Linked DNA regions of Homo sapiens: regions 1 and 3 are each linked to region 2. The links are contacts of gene promoters, found by promoter capture Hi-C in blood cells and fetal thymus (Javierre and others, 2016). All regions are on one chromosome and are shown on one strand. The core of a region is centred on a gene start or on the middle of the fragment in contact, and the rest is flanking DNA. Distances in the headings are between cores, read along the strand shown.

The links. Contacts are between HindIII fragments. The CHiCAGO score rates a contact against its expected background, and 5 or more counts as called.
Region 1: a contact is called between a fragment that was not itself captured here and the fragment with the promoter of ZNF212 in region 2, in 3 of 17 cell types (total CD4 T cells, total CD8 T cells and neutrophils). The highest score is 6.4, in total CD4 T cells.
Region 3: a contact is called between the fragment with the promoter of KRABD3 here and the fragment with the promoter of ZNF212 in region 2, in 1 of 17 cell types (naive B cells). The highest score is 6.3, in naive B cells.

The regions. Positions count from the first base shown.
Region 1 is chr7:149,499,135-149,503,134 of GRCh38, forward strand. No RefSeq gene overlaps it. Among named protein-coding and RNA genes, the nearest start is that of ZNF746, 3.3 kb to the left of the region's middle. The HindIII fragment of the contact is 3,449 bases long and covers 345-3,793 here.
Region 2 is chr7:149,237,341-149,241,320 of GRCh38, forward strand. ZNF212 (zinc finger protein 212) reads left to right here and starts at 2,311. Exons shown (of 5, transcript NM_012256.4): 1 at 2,311-2,462. The coding sequence starts at 2,439. RefSeq lists an enhancer at 2,078-2,372. The HindIII fragment of the contact is 6,599 bases long and covers 1-3,145 here.
Region 3 is chr7:149,713,246-149,717,129 of GRCh38, forward strand. It overlaps KRABD3 (KRAB domain containing 3), which reads left to right and starts at 1,706. Exons shown (of 17, transcript NM_001290187.2): 1 at 1,706-1,821. The coding sequence starts at 1,810. RefSeq lists silencers at 233-527, 1,354-1,793 and enhancers at 859-1,358, 1,996-2,628. The HindIII fragment of the contact is 2,289 bases long and covers 822-3,110 here.

The sequences.
Region 1 (4,000 bases), core at 819-3,318, 260 kb after region 2:
ATTGCCTGAGCTCAGGAGTTTGATACCAGCCTGAGCAACATGACAAAACCCCGTCTCTACTAAAAATAGAAAAAATTAGCGAGGCGTGGTGGCACGCACCTGTAATCCCAACTACTGGGGAGGCTGAGGTACGAGAATCGCTTGAACCCGGGAGGCAGAGGTTGCAGTGAGTGGAGATCACACCACTGGGTGACAGAAATACAGTGCATTAGAAATAAAGAGACATTTTTAGTGTGCAATTTAAAAAGTTCCCTTTTGACAGGCTGAGTCGGATATGCCAGGGTCATCTCTAGGTAGTAATTTCCAAGCCTGGCTCTCAGAGCAGCTGCATCAGTCTCTGGGGAAGCTTGTGAAGGATATGGATTTCTGGATCCCATCTCATATCTACTGAATCAAAATGTCTTTGGGATGGGTCCTGAGTAATGTGGAGAAAACTTATTTTAAAAGAAGGTCTCTTTTTAACAAGTTCCTTGTAGGGGTTGAGGTAAGGGTGAAGCTGGGGCTCTGCAGACAGCCAAGTTAGGGTAATGATGACTTGCTCTGTCCTCCACTGAAGACAGGCATCTATTGCAGAGCATCTCTGGTGCTGGTTTTCCAGCCTCTATTTGTAAAAAGAACGAAGATAAACCTCCTTGGATTGATATATGAGGCTTCCAAAGCCTTTCCCTCCATTTTGGGCACAGGTGTCAAAAGCAGGCATGAGAGTTTCCACTCCTGTGCCTTTCCTCATGCTTTTCCCCTCTCCTCTTGCCCACCCGAAGTTCTCACACCTTTTCCAGACCAGCATATGCCCTAATTCTTCCAGTTAAGTCTCTCCATGCCAATCACGGCTGCAGCAAGCTCTGCATTGTCCCAACTCTAATAATTTTTATTCTCGGTGCCATTCATATGGCACTGAGAAAAAAATTACAATACAAGGTAGTAGTTCCTAACTCACCTCTTGGATTATAAGTTCCCTGAGAGCAGGGACTATATCTTATTTCTCTTGTCTCTCCTGCAGTGCCTAATACTGGGCAGGTTTAGGCAACATAAAGTAATGATTTAGTACAAGTCTTAATTGATTGCTCTGTGTGGTGTGATCAACTGTGGTCCAAAGAATCATCCCCTCCTCTGCTCTAATACTTCTGCAGCCCCTACCATCTCCACCTTCCTGCTGAGTATTCCTAGAAGAAAAATCATAAAGCATTTTCAACACACCCAGAAGGAGCCTGGAAGGGCTAGAGAACATGAGACCACATGTCAACTCAAGGTGTCAGGGAGGCAGGAAGTGTGTGGTTCATACTGCACATAGACTGTGTAGATGTAGGGACTATGGACCCATGCACCCCTATGAGTGCTTCCTATACTCCAGCAGGTACAGCAGAACAGGTGGACCTCTATTTTTCCAGCTGCTCCCTTAGGCCTGAGCTTTTCCCCTGGGACCAGGCACACAGCCTAAAAGTTCAGGCTTGGGGTTTTCAAAAAGACTGTGGTAATCATTGCTGCCCACTAAATATTTCCAGCTGGTTTCTCTTGAAGACCATGGCTGGATGGCACTTCCTGGTTTCTTCTGGCTGGGTTGGACCATGTGACAAGTTCTGGCTGATGTTTTTTCTTTCCCTCTACTATGGTAACCCAGCAATATTTGAGGAGGTGGGTGCTGTATTTGCCTGCATCCTGGAGGTGGGGGACATTGAGTAGACTCCCCAGCCATCCCATGATGAGCTACTTACAGCATGAACATGAAACTTTTTGTTGTAACATGGTTTGGGGGTTGCTTGTTCCACAGTTTAACCTAGCCTATCCTGACAGATACAAAGGCATGGTGAAAGTTGGCCAGGCATTGCAGCAGGCATCCTTGGGCTCCAGGTGGTGTCTGCTCGAGCTTAACTTCCCTTACATTGTCTGAGTGCTCTCACATTGAGCGTTACCCTGCAGCGGTTAGATGTGGTGAAGTGCTGGAGAACTTGCAGCTGGCCCTGGAGTCTCTCCCATGGAGCCAGTGCCAAGTTCCTGCCTCAAATCCCTCAGTGAAATTTGCAGATGCGGATGGTCAGGGCCATGGCTCTGAGAAGCTACCTCCTTTCCTTCTGCTGGGAGCTGGGAGACTCACAGTCCTCTGGGGTTGGCTGGCTGGAGGCCAGTGCCTCAAAAATATTCTATACCAGAGCCCTTGAGTACAGAGAAAAGTGAATGTATGTCCTGTGGGTCTGGACGCTGCCTGAAATGGCCCTTGGTGAGCCAGAAGGTGTGATAAATTGTCATACTTTAACAATCCATTAAATCTTGTCTCCTTTATAAAACTTCTGTGCTTGTTTTAATTTTAAAAGATTATTTTGATTTATTGACCAGAGTAAAAAATTTATTTGATGTTTCAAAACCCCTCTCTTGCTCCTGAAATGGGAACAATTCCCTCATCCGCCTCTCAGGGTGTGAGATGGGGGCTGCAGCTCACTTTGTCAGTGCCCCGCTGCTCAAACCTCTAGCGGGAGCATGTAGGCAGGCAGGCTGTGGGGCTTATCACAAGGACAGAGGGCTTTCTGTATCCTGGGGTTCTTGCCTTAGTGTGCCAGAAAAATTAGATCACGCGTGGGCTTGGGGGATGGGTGCAAGGCTTTTTATTAAGTGGTGGCAGCTCTCAGTGAGGTGGATGGAGAGGCCAGAAGGAGGATGGAGTGGGAAGGTGGCCTTTCCCTGGAGTCAGGCCACCCAGTGGCCGGGCCCTCCTCCGACTGGCCTCTGCTGAACTCCGTGTCGTCCCGTCATAGATGGCCTGCCGGCGTCTGCTGGTGTCTGCCCGTGTGTTCTTCTGCTGTTGAGTTCCTCTCGATGTCCAGCTGCTCGTGTCCGTGCCCACTAGGGTCTCAGGATGTTTAAAGGCACAGGATGGGGTGTGTGGCAGGCCAGGGTGGTCTTGGAAATGCCACATTTAGCCACAGAAACAGAAATACCTGTCCTCACCTAGGTCAGTGGGCACAGGCCTGAGGGTAGAGCCTTTGCCAGGGACCCTGCCTTTCTCTACCCAGCACTTTCCTGCCTCCCTCCTGTATCACTCCCACATCCCTCCTCACCCTGGACCTCCCTTTCAGGGGGTCCGTGCCTCCGTCTGAGAAGCATAGCTCCAGGCATCTCAGGTGTTGCTGAGTTTCCACCATGATGGCATCACCCTCTGCCAACCTGGAGGTAAGATCCTGATGTGGCATTAGAAAGCCAGGGGCAAGGTGGGCAAGTGGCAGATGTGTGGAGGAAGTTTCAGTGCCCTGGCATCCATGATTGCCTTTCAAGTTTTCTAGAAGCGTCCATAGCCTCAGTTATTCTGATATGGTGATGTTAAAACCTGCCTACACCTAGGGTGTTTATGACTGACAACAGCTTAGAGAGTGACCCGTCCCAGGGCCCTGGCATCTTCTCTGGGGTCAGAACTTTGAGCGACAGGAATGAACAACAGGGCATTCCAGACGCCCTCAGCAGAGTGCAAGTCTCTGCACCTGAGCTCTCCAGGGCAGGAGTGAGGTCACCTTGCGCCAGTGGAGGTGAGGTGGATGGTAAAAGAATATAGGAGGCCCTTCCATATTTGGAGCAAACTCCAAATATGGAAATATGGAAAAATCCAGACATAAGAAACAAGCATCAGAGTTTTGTTTTTAGATTCATTAAAAATTTTTAATAACTAAAGTTATTGAATTCTCCCATAACTAAAATCTCCACAGCTTTTGAAAATAGTGTTCTAGGTACAAAAATTAGATTTCTCAAGGAGTACTTACTGTGCAGAACATGGCCCACCCCAGCAATATTATTAATTATAATAGAAACAAGCTTATTACTCAGGTGCTGACTCATATTTACAAGAGATTTTGAAGTTTTATAGGTCTGACCTTTGAGTTGTCAATTTTTGAGGACCTCACAATAGTCTCTCATGGCTTTCAGAGTGGGGGAAGCCTGTCACATCAAAGCCTAGCCAGATGAAATGAAGAATATTTTATAGGGACACTGAGTCCTTTTGAGCTTGGCTAGGGACAAA
Region 2 (3,980 bases), core at 1,061-3,560:
TCCCCTTTATATAACATTATATATATATCCTATTAGTCTGTCTAGAGAAACCTAATATACTGGCAGTGCTGGGCTAGGGACCCAGACGGTCTCACTCCCCAGCCCCACTTAGCAAATCACTGTGCCACACTGTCTTCATCAGCCCGGGGGACTGCAGGCGCCACACCATCTCCACCAGCCCACGTGATTGCAACCCTGGTGCCTGGTGCTGCCTCCTTTGCAGGCTGGAAATTTGATCTGAACCTTTTTCCAGACTTCCAGGCTCAGAGTCTGGGATGCTGAAACATGCTCATTTTCAAGAGACTGAGGTATACATGTGCATCAGCTTCACCTGCATGTTGCCTCCCAGAAGCTACCTGGCAACATGCAACGTCAGAAGGTTGCCTTGTGAGTATAGAAATAGAATAGAGGGAATGAGTTCTACGACCGAACTGTTTAATGACCTCAGCATCCTATGTCCTGATATTGTGCCTGTGGAGGATAACATTTTTATTTTATTTTTAAAGACAAGATCTTGGTCTGTTGCCTACGCTGGAGTGCAGTGGTGCGATCGTGATTCACTGCAGCCTTGAACTACTGGGTTCAAATGATTCTTCCACCTCAACCTCTTGAGTAGCTGAGACTACAGGTGTGCACCACTACTCCTGGCTCATTTTAATTTTAATTTTAATTTTGTAGAGACAGGGTCTGCCTATTTGCTCAGGTTGGTCTCAAACTCCAGTGATCCTCCTGCCTTGCCCTCCCAAAGTGCTAGGATTACAGGCATGAGCCACCTCACCCATGACACATTTTTTTTTTTTTCTGTATCTGACACCAAGAGTTTGTTGGTCTGAGAGATTAGGTCAGACCCTCTGGACAGGATCTCCCTGACTGACCGGTTTCTTCAGCCTGGCCCATTCTTTCTCTAGATTTATTAATGATTCAGTGACGTGCCCGTTGATCTAGTTGCCCTGGAAATAATGCCTCTGTTTGAGATGACATTTCATATCCTTACACTCTGATTCACCATTCAATCATTTACAAATATGAACACTTCTGTGTACAACAAATGGAGGATACAGTAGACAGACATTTCAGTGGAAGAGATACAGATAATTAATATGTAAATGAGTGAAAAAGAGAGATTACTTCAGATGGTGATAAATGGTATGAAAAATTTCCAGCAGGGTAACGAGATTGAGTATTGAGATGGAGGATGGTGTGGGGCTGTAGAAAGGGGGGACTGGGGATATCTCTCTGAGGATGTAGAATCTGAACTGAGCCCTGCATGTGAGGAAGGAGCCAGTCATGATCTTAAAAGTTTCGTTCTCCGCCGGGTGGGGTGGCTCACACCTGTAATCCCGGCGCTTTGGGAGGCTGAGGTGGGCGGATCACCTGAGGTCGGGAGTTTGAGACCAGCCTGACCAACATGGGGAAACCCCGTCTCTACTAAAAATACAAAATTAGCCAGGCGTGGTGGCACATGCCTGTAATCCCAGCTACTAGGGAGGCTGAGGCAGAAGAATCGCTTGAGCCCGGGAGGTGGAGGTTGCAGTGAGCCGAGATTGCGCCATTGCACTCCAGCCTGGGCAACAAGAGCGAAACTCCATCTCAAAAAAAAAAAGTTTCGTTCTCAGAGGAAACACTTCACGCCTATCCTGTGAAGTGGAAGTTCATTGCTTGTCTCCAGAGAGACAATGGTATAAATTAGGCAGCTATGGTTGCCGTAGTGTTGCTGGTATTGGGGATTAAGTACATGGCGATTAAATGGTCATGTGGCCGTGCTTTCCAACAAAAATTCCAGACACATCGTCTTACATGTAGCATGAGGACTGGAAATATTTGAAATCAGGGTTGTCTTGGACTTTCCAAGGCACATGATTACCATAATTAACAGGCTACAGAGGGCTGGCCTGGGCCTGACCCCACGCTCCACACTGTTGATATGGAAACTGTTCCCAGTTTCTAAAAAGCCAAATAACAGGTGAACTTTTGGAATAAAATCACTTGCCTTTTGGAACCATATTTCTTTTCCCCAACAACATTACATGTTCTTTCCTCAGCAAAAAGTCTGAGTTGTACACATTTTTGAATCCCTCAAAGCATTTAGCAGAGTGCTGGGCATACGGAAGACAGCAGGATCCCGTGGCTTTGCCTGAAACGCGGAACCTGGTCTTGACTTTTGAGTGACTGAGCCCTCCTGGTGCCCGCACTCTGGCCGGGAGTGCCAAGCAGCGTTCTCCCTCCCGCCGCACGGGGGCACAATGGGAAGCCTGCACAGTGAGGAAGAGCGGCTGGAGCCGGTCTTGTGCCGGGGAGGTCGCTGCTCCCAGAATGCACCTGGCATCAACACGGCGGCGGCGGCGGCGGCTTCCAACAGGCTCTGGGGCGCCGAGCGGACAGGAACGCAGCACGGGGGCTCCGAGGCGGGGTCTGGGTGTTGAGGGGCGACTGGAGCCATGGCGGAGTCGGCGCCTGCTCGGGTAAAGAGGCACCGGCGCGCTGGCTCGAGGGCGCGTTGGGGATGGCGGAGTCCCCTGCCGGGGGCGGGGCTTCGCGGTTTGGACGCCGCCGGGGTCTTGGTTTCCCGGGGCTGCCGTTGGCGCGGGTGAACGCGGACCCTCCTCTTCGCGACCCCAGTGCTCTGCCCTTTTTTCCCTCCGCTTCCTTCTGCAGCGGGGTCGGAGCCTCGGCGCCGTGCGCCCTTGCCCAGAAACTTCTCTGACGCTTGCTTTAGGTTGGTGGATTTGTGACCCTGCCCACACATTTTCTCTTTCGTGCCAAAAGAGCCCGTTCCCAGGTTGGAGTGTTTCCAGATTGGAAACGGTCTCCGTCGCTACGAGTGAGCTCTCCCGCTGCCCGGGAGACCCCAGGACTTGCCTCTCTGCGACCACCTCCTCTTCGGTCCGATGTGTTGTCGGTTTTTCCAGTGCTGCAGATTTCTGTCTGGGGGTTGCAGCCACAGGTTGAAGTCAGCCTGGGCTGCTTCTCCTTGGGGACGGATGTTATCTACAGTGCAGTTGCTGCATTTTGTTTGTAGAGCTGCCCAAACTCTCTCCTTCACCCCCCCCCCAACACCCCCCTCCCAGCCCACCGACCATCCCCATTCTGGGAATGTCAAGATACGGAGTTTGGTGTGAGGAAAATCCTATTTGTGGAGTCACGAAGCTTTCAGCTGTCCATTTGGGTGATTTTAGGCAACTGTGTTCGCTTCTCTGGGTCTCTTTCGTTTTCTTAACTGTAAATCGAGAGTGTTGGAGTAGTTGCTAGATGATCTCCAAGGCTTTAAGTTTCCTTCCAGCTCCGACATTCTCATACTGTTCCCATACTGTTTCAAAGTAGTGGTTAATTTAACAACACCAGAGGGTTTGCAACGGAAGGGGCAGCTGGAATTGAATTGACTTTTAATGAAGTGTTCCTTGGTCTAGAAACACTTCGAGAATCATGTTAGATCTTTGTGAGAATGGAGGGCTAAGGAAATTCTGTGGGGAAAATTTGACCATGAGCAGGGTGCGCTATATTTGATTCTTGTAGAAAGTGCGTTAAGAACTAAGAACGGAGAGATTGGGAGACTTAGAGAACACAGTATTTGCTTTCAAGGAAGTTAACAGTTGAATTGGGAAGACAAGACACAAATGTTTACAATATTAACCTCATCTGACTCCTATAAGCTAGGCTGAGCCAGTCAAAGACTTGGCTTTTCCACAAGATCTAGTTAGTGTTAGAGTCCGGCGAGAGGATTCTGCCACAGTTCTTCCTGCCAGGTCACTCCACAATTACCTACATGTCGTCAGTAGACCTTGTTAGGAAGAAGCCTTAAAGGTCCACCACAGGCCAGGCGCAGTGGCTCATGCCTGTAATCCCAGCACTTTAGGAGGCCGAGGAGGGCGGATCACGAGGTCAGGAGTTCAAGACTAGTCTGGCCAATGTGGTGAAACCCGGTCTCTACTAAAAATACAAAAATTAGCCGGGCGTGGTGGCGGGTGCCTGTAGACCCAGCT
Region 3 (3,884 bases), core at 456-2,955, 480 kb after region 2:
CCAGGGAAAGCTTTATCTGTAGTTACAGCCACTCCCCCTTGCTCGCATTACCCCTGAGCTCTGCCTCCTGTCAGATCTGCAGGTGCTGGATTCTCATAGGAGCCAGAACCCTGTTGTGAATGCGGGATCCAGGTTGCGGGCTCCTTAGGAGAATCTAATGCCTGGTGATCTGAGTTGGAACAGTTTCATCCCAAAACAACCCCCCTCCCAGTCCATGCAAAAATTCCCTTCCACAAAACCGGGCTCTGGCCCAAAAGGTTGGGGACCCCTGATTTAGGGGGTTTTAACGTTTAGGGATCCCGGGCCGGAGGGTGGGCGGTGGAGAGGAGCTGGGAGCAGGAACACATTACTGTAAGGAGCCCGCCTCACCTCGGCACGGAGGTGGGACCCGGCCTAAAGCCCAGGAGGCGACTTACCCTGAGGGCTGTGGCCTGTAGGGCTCTTGAAAAGTTGGACTTTTAAGTTTTCCCTTTCCGCGAGGTGGGGCCTTGTGATATCTTCAAATCCTTGTTCAGCAGGCTGCGCACACGCCGGTCCTGTGTCTAAGGTGTCTCGGGTATGACCGAGGGGGCTTTGCCCGAGTGGGCGTGCGCCTTTCCTCGGAGGCCGGGACGAGGGGTTGTCGGCATCGTACCCGAGTCCGTGATCATGGCCGGCGCGGCTGCAAGGGCCAGCCCCGGGCGACTGGGCGAGGAATTCCCTTTCCTTCCCTCCGATATTGCCCAGGCAGAGCGCTGTCTGGGCCGCAAGGTCTGGACGGGGCTTCCAAACTCAGAGCAGAGTCTCCTCTGCGTGGGACCACAGCCTCCCCTTCCCCTCCAAGCTTCTGTCTGGCACAGCAGGCTTAGCCCCGCAGGCCCCCTTCCAGCAGCCTTCTATAAAAATGACGGGGTCCTTCTCCAGACAGGAAAACCAGGCTCGCTGCGCCTCGCCCGCACCCCCGGAGCGCTCTCGCAGCGCCCGCCCAGACCAGGCCTTCGAACTCGTGAAGCGCAGGGGGAGGCAGAGGAGAGTGGGCCGCGCTTCCTTCCCGCATCACACGTTTATTTGAGGCCTACTATGTGCCAGGAACAACTGGGGTTACCACCCCAGCAAACAGGCACGCAAAATGTGACACGAAGGTAGGTCATGGCTGCGGCGAGCGGGGGCGCGGGCGAAAGACGTGAGGATGTACGGGGGCCTGGCAGCTGCTCTGTCCCACCCACGCCCGGCCGGACCCTCGACCCCTTTCACTCCAGGTCGGGTTTCCCCGACCGCGGCCTCTGGGAAAGATGGGTCCCTCTTCATCCCCACCATCAGCCCCTGGCACATGGGACGCGCTGAGTGGTGGCTGCGGGAATGAATGAGTGATAAGCGGCGCGTACCCGCGGGCTTGCACGCCCACAGCCGCCCCGGCTGGTCTCGGCGCGCAACCTCTACCCGCAGCTGGGGGCGGGGACGAGGGGAGGGGGCGGGGACGAGGCCCGAGCCAGGTCCGCCCCGCCCTGTCTCCGCCCCCCGCTTCCGAGCCGGCGCCGCGGCGCCTTCTGGGAAGTGTAGTCCGCGTCTGCGCCGGCCGGCCGGGCCGCCGAAGCCGGGGGCTCCGGGCGGAAACGGCACCACCCACCAAGGGATGCGAGGCGCTCGGGGCGGGCTCAACGAGGCCGGGGGCGGGCCCGGGCGCGCCCACCCCCGCCCCTCCCCCTCGGCCCAGGCCCCCGGCCCCGCCTTCTCCTGCGCGGACCTGGGCCGCCGCCGACGAGGGTCGCGTGCGCCCGCGCCAGGGCCCGCGCCGGAAACCGAGGAGTGGCGGGGAGGCTGAGCCCGGGGATGGCGCGCCAGGTAAGGCAGGCGGACGCGCGGACCCCTCGGCGCAGTGCGGCCCCGAAGGCGGTAGGGCGAGAAAGAGCTGGGACCCCCCCGCAACTTCGGGATCGGCTGGGTGAGGCTGGGCAGGCCTGATGCTCAGGGGTTCGTGCCGGGAAGTTCAGGTCCTCGGACAACCTCTCTCCAGCTCTCCGCCGCCGGTACCCACGGCCCAGTCTCCACCTGGGGAAACCCCCTTGGCGTGGCTTGTTTCGTTACAAGTTATCCTGGTAGAGTGGGCATGAAGGCCTCGGAGGCAGTGAGTAAATCTCATACTTCTGTTCTTGGTGGAATCCTGGATCCCGGGGGCTGGGGACGTGGAAATGGGGAGAAACAAAGATAGAACAAACCCCAAGTTTTGTCTTGGGAAGCCTGCAGGTAAGGCGTTTAGATCTGAGAACTGGAGGGAGAGCCCCAGGCCGTGACAGCCTGGGCACCGTTTGGGCTAGGTTGTGTGTGGGCTGTGACGATGCTGGGAAACTCTGGTGCTGATATCAGTGAGGTATCAGGTATCTGGTGCTGATACCAGCAACTGCTCCACGTTCTTCTGGATGGGCACCTGGAGCCAGTTCTGCAACCGTGGTGGCTCCTGAGCTTTGGCCAGTCCGAGGCAGCCATGGATGGGGGGCAGCGTGTGACTAGGCAGAGCAAACACTGTGCCAGGCCCTTGGCGTCATTAGTGCCCCCAAGCATTTGGGGAGAAGGGAGAGGCTAGGCAAATTGGATGTTGTTGGGCAGGGACAGTCAAGTGTCCTTTTCAGGTCTGGCTGCACAGTTAAGTAGCCTAGGGACACCCTGGTTCAGACATGCCCATGGCCCCATCCTAAGGCCTCCTCATACCACAGTTTCCTGTTCTGTAAAGTGAGGAGTTTGGGCCATTGACCTTTCAGATCTGATGAGGGGAATATCCTCACACTACGTAGCTTCATGGAGAAGGTGGCCAGGAGTGACCTTGGGGAGTGGTAGGTCACTGTAAGGTGGAGAGGAGCAGGGAGGGTTCCCAGAAGCCCAGGGCAATGTGAGCACAGCCTCCAGGTTGAGAGGTCCTGTGGCAGGGTCTGATCAGGGAGCCCGAGCCTGAGGCCCACTGGGAGAGCAGGTCTAGGTTGGGAAGGACTGTGAGAGAGGGGCAGGTCCAGCAGGCACTGAAGCTGCAGTTTTTGTGCTGGGCTAGTGACACGGTGGAAGGGTGATGTTAGGAGGACCAGTGTGCAGCTATGAGCTAGGAGGCTGCCCAGTTACAAGAGTCCTGGGTCAGCCCAGAAAGCTTTTCTCCATTGGTTGGGGGAAGGAGGTGAAGTGGGGCCCGAGGAGGAAGGCCGGTGGTGTGTGGGCAGAGCCAGCCAGTGGTGGCCTTCCTCCTCCCGAAGATGAGTTTTGTAGCCCAGGTGTTTGCACACTCACACTTGCTCACTCCCTCACACACAAAACCCTCACTCTTTGCTTTTTCTGGGGAGAGGGAGGCCACTGGCAGAAGCGCCTACCCTGGCCACAGTCAGTTCCCATTCTCATTTTCTAAGAATTTTATCACAAAACAGTTTGTCTTGAGGCTGAGATGGTGAGAGGCCTGGAAAGCATCTCTTACAGATTCCTGGAAGAGCTGGGATATATTTAGTCTGGAGCGAGAGAGACACCGGTGGTCAGGAGCAGTATGTGGAAGAGCTCAGCTGGCAGGCTCAGACCTGCAAGCGGGCATTAGGCAGACAGGTCTGGCTGCAGTATTACTAATCATAGCACTTAATATTCATAGTCCCCGCATTTGTTCTAGGCACTATTCCTGTATTTGTTTTGTCTTCACAATACCTCTATGAGGTAGGTTGTTATGATCCCAGTATTACAGATGAGTTCACTGAGGCCCAAATAGGTTAGGTTTGGCTGAGGTCTCATAACTAGTATGAAACAAGGCAGGGATTGGAATTCTGGCAGCCTGGCTCCTGAGGCTAGGCCCCAGTCACCGTGCTCTGCCCCGGTCTCTGGGTCCGGAACCTCTTAATGGCCACATCAGGTCAGCAGTGGTACCAGTGCAACCAACATAGCTG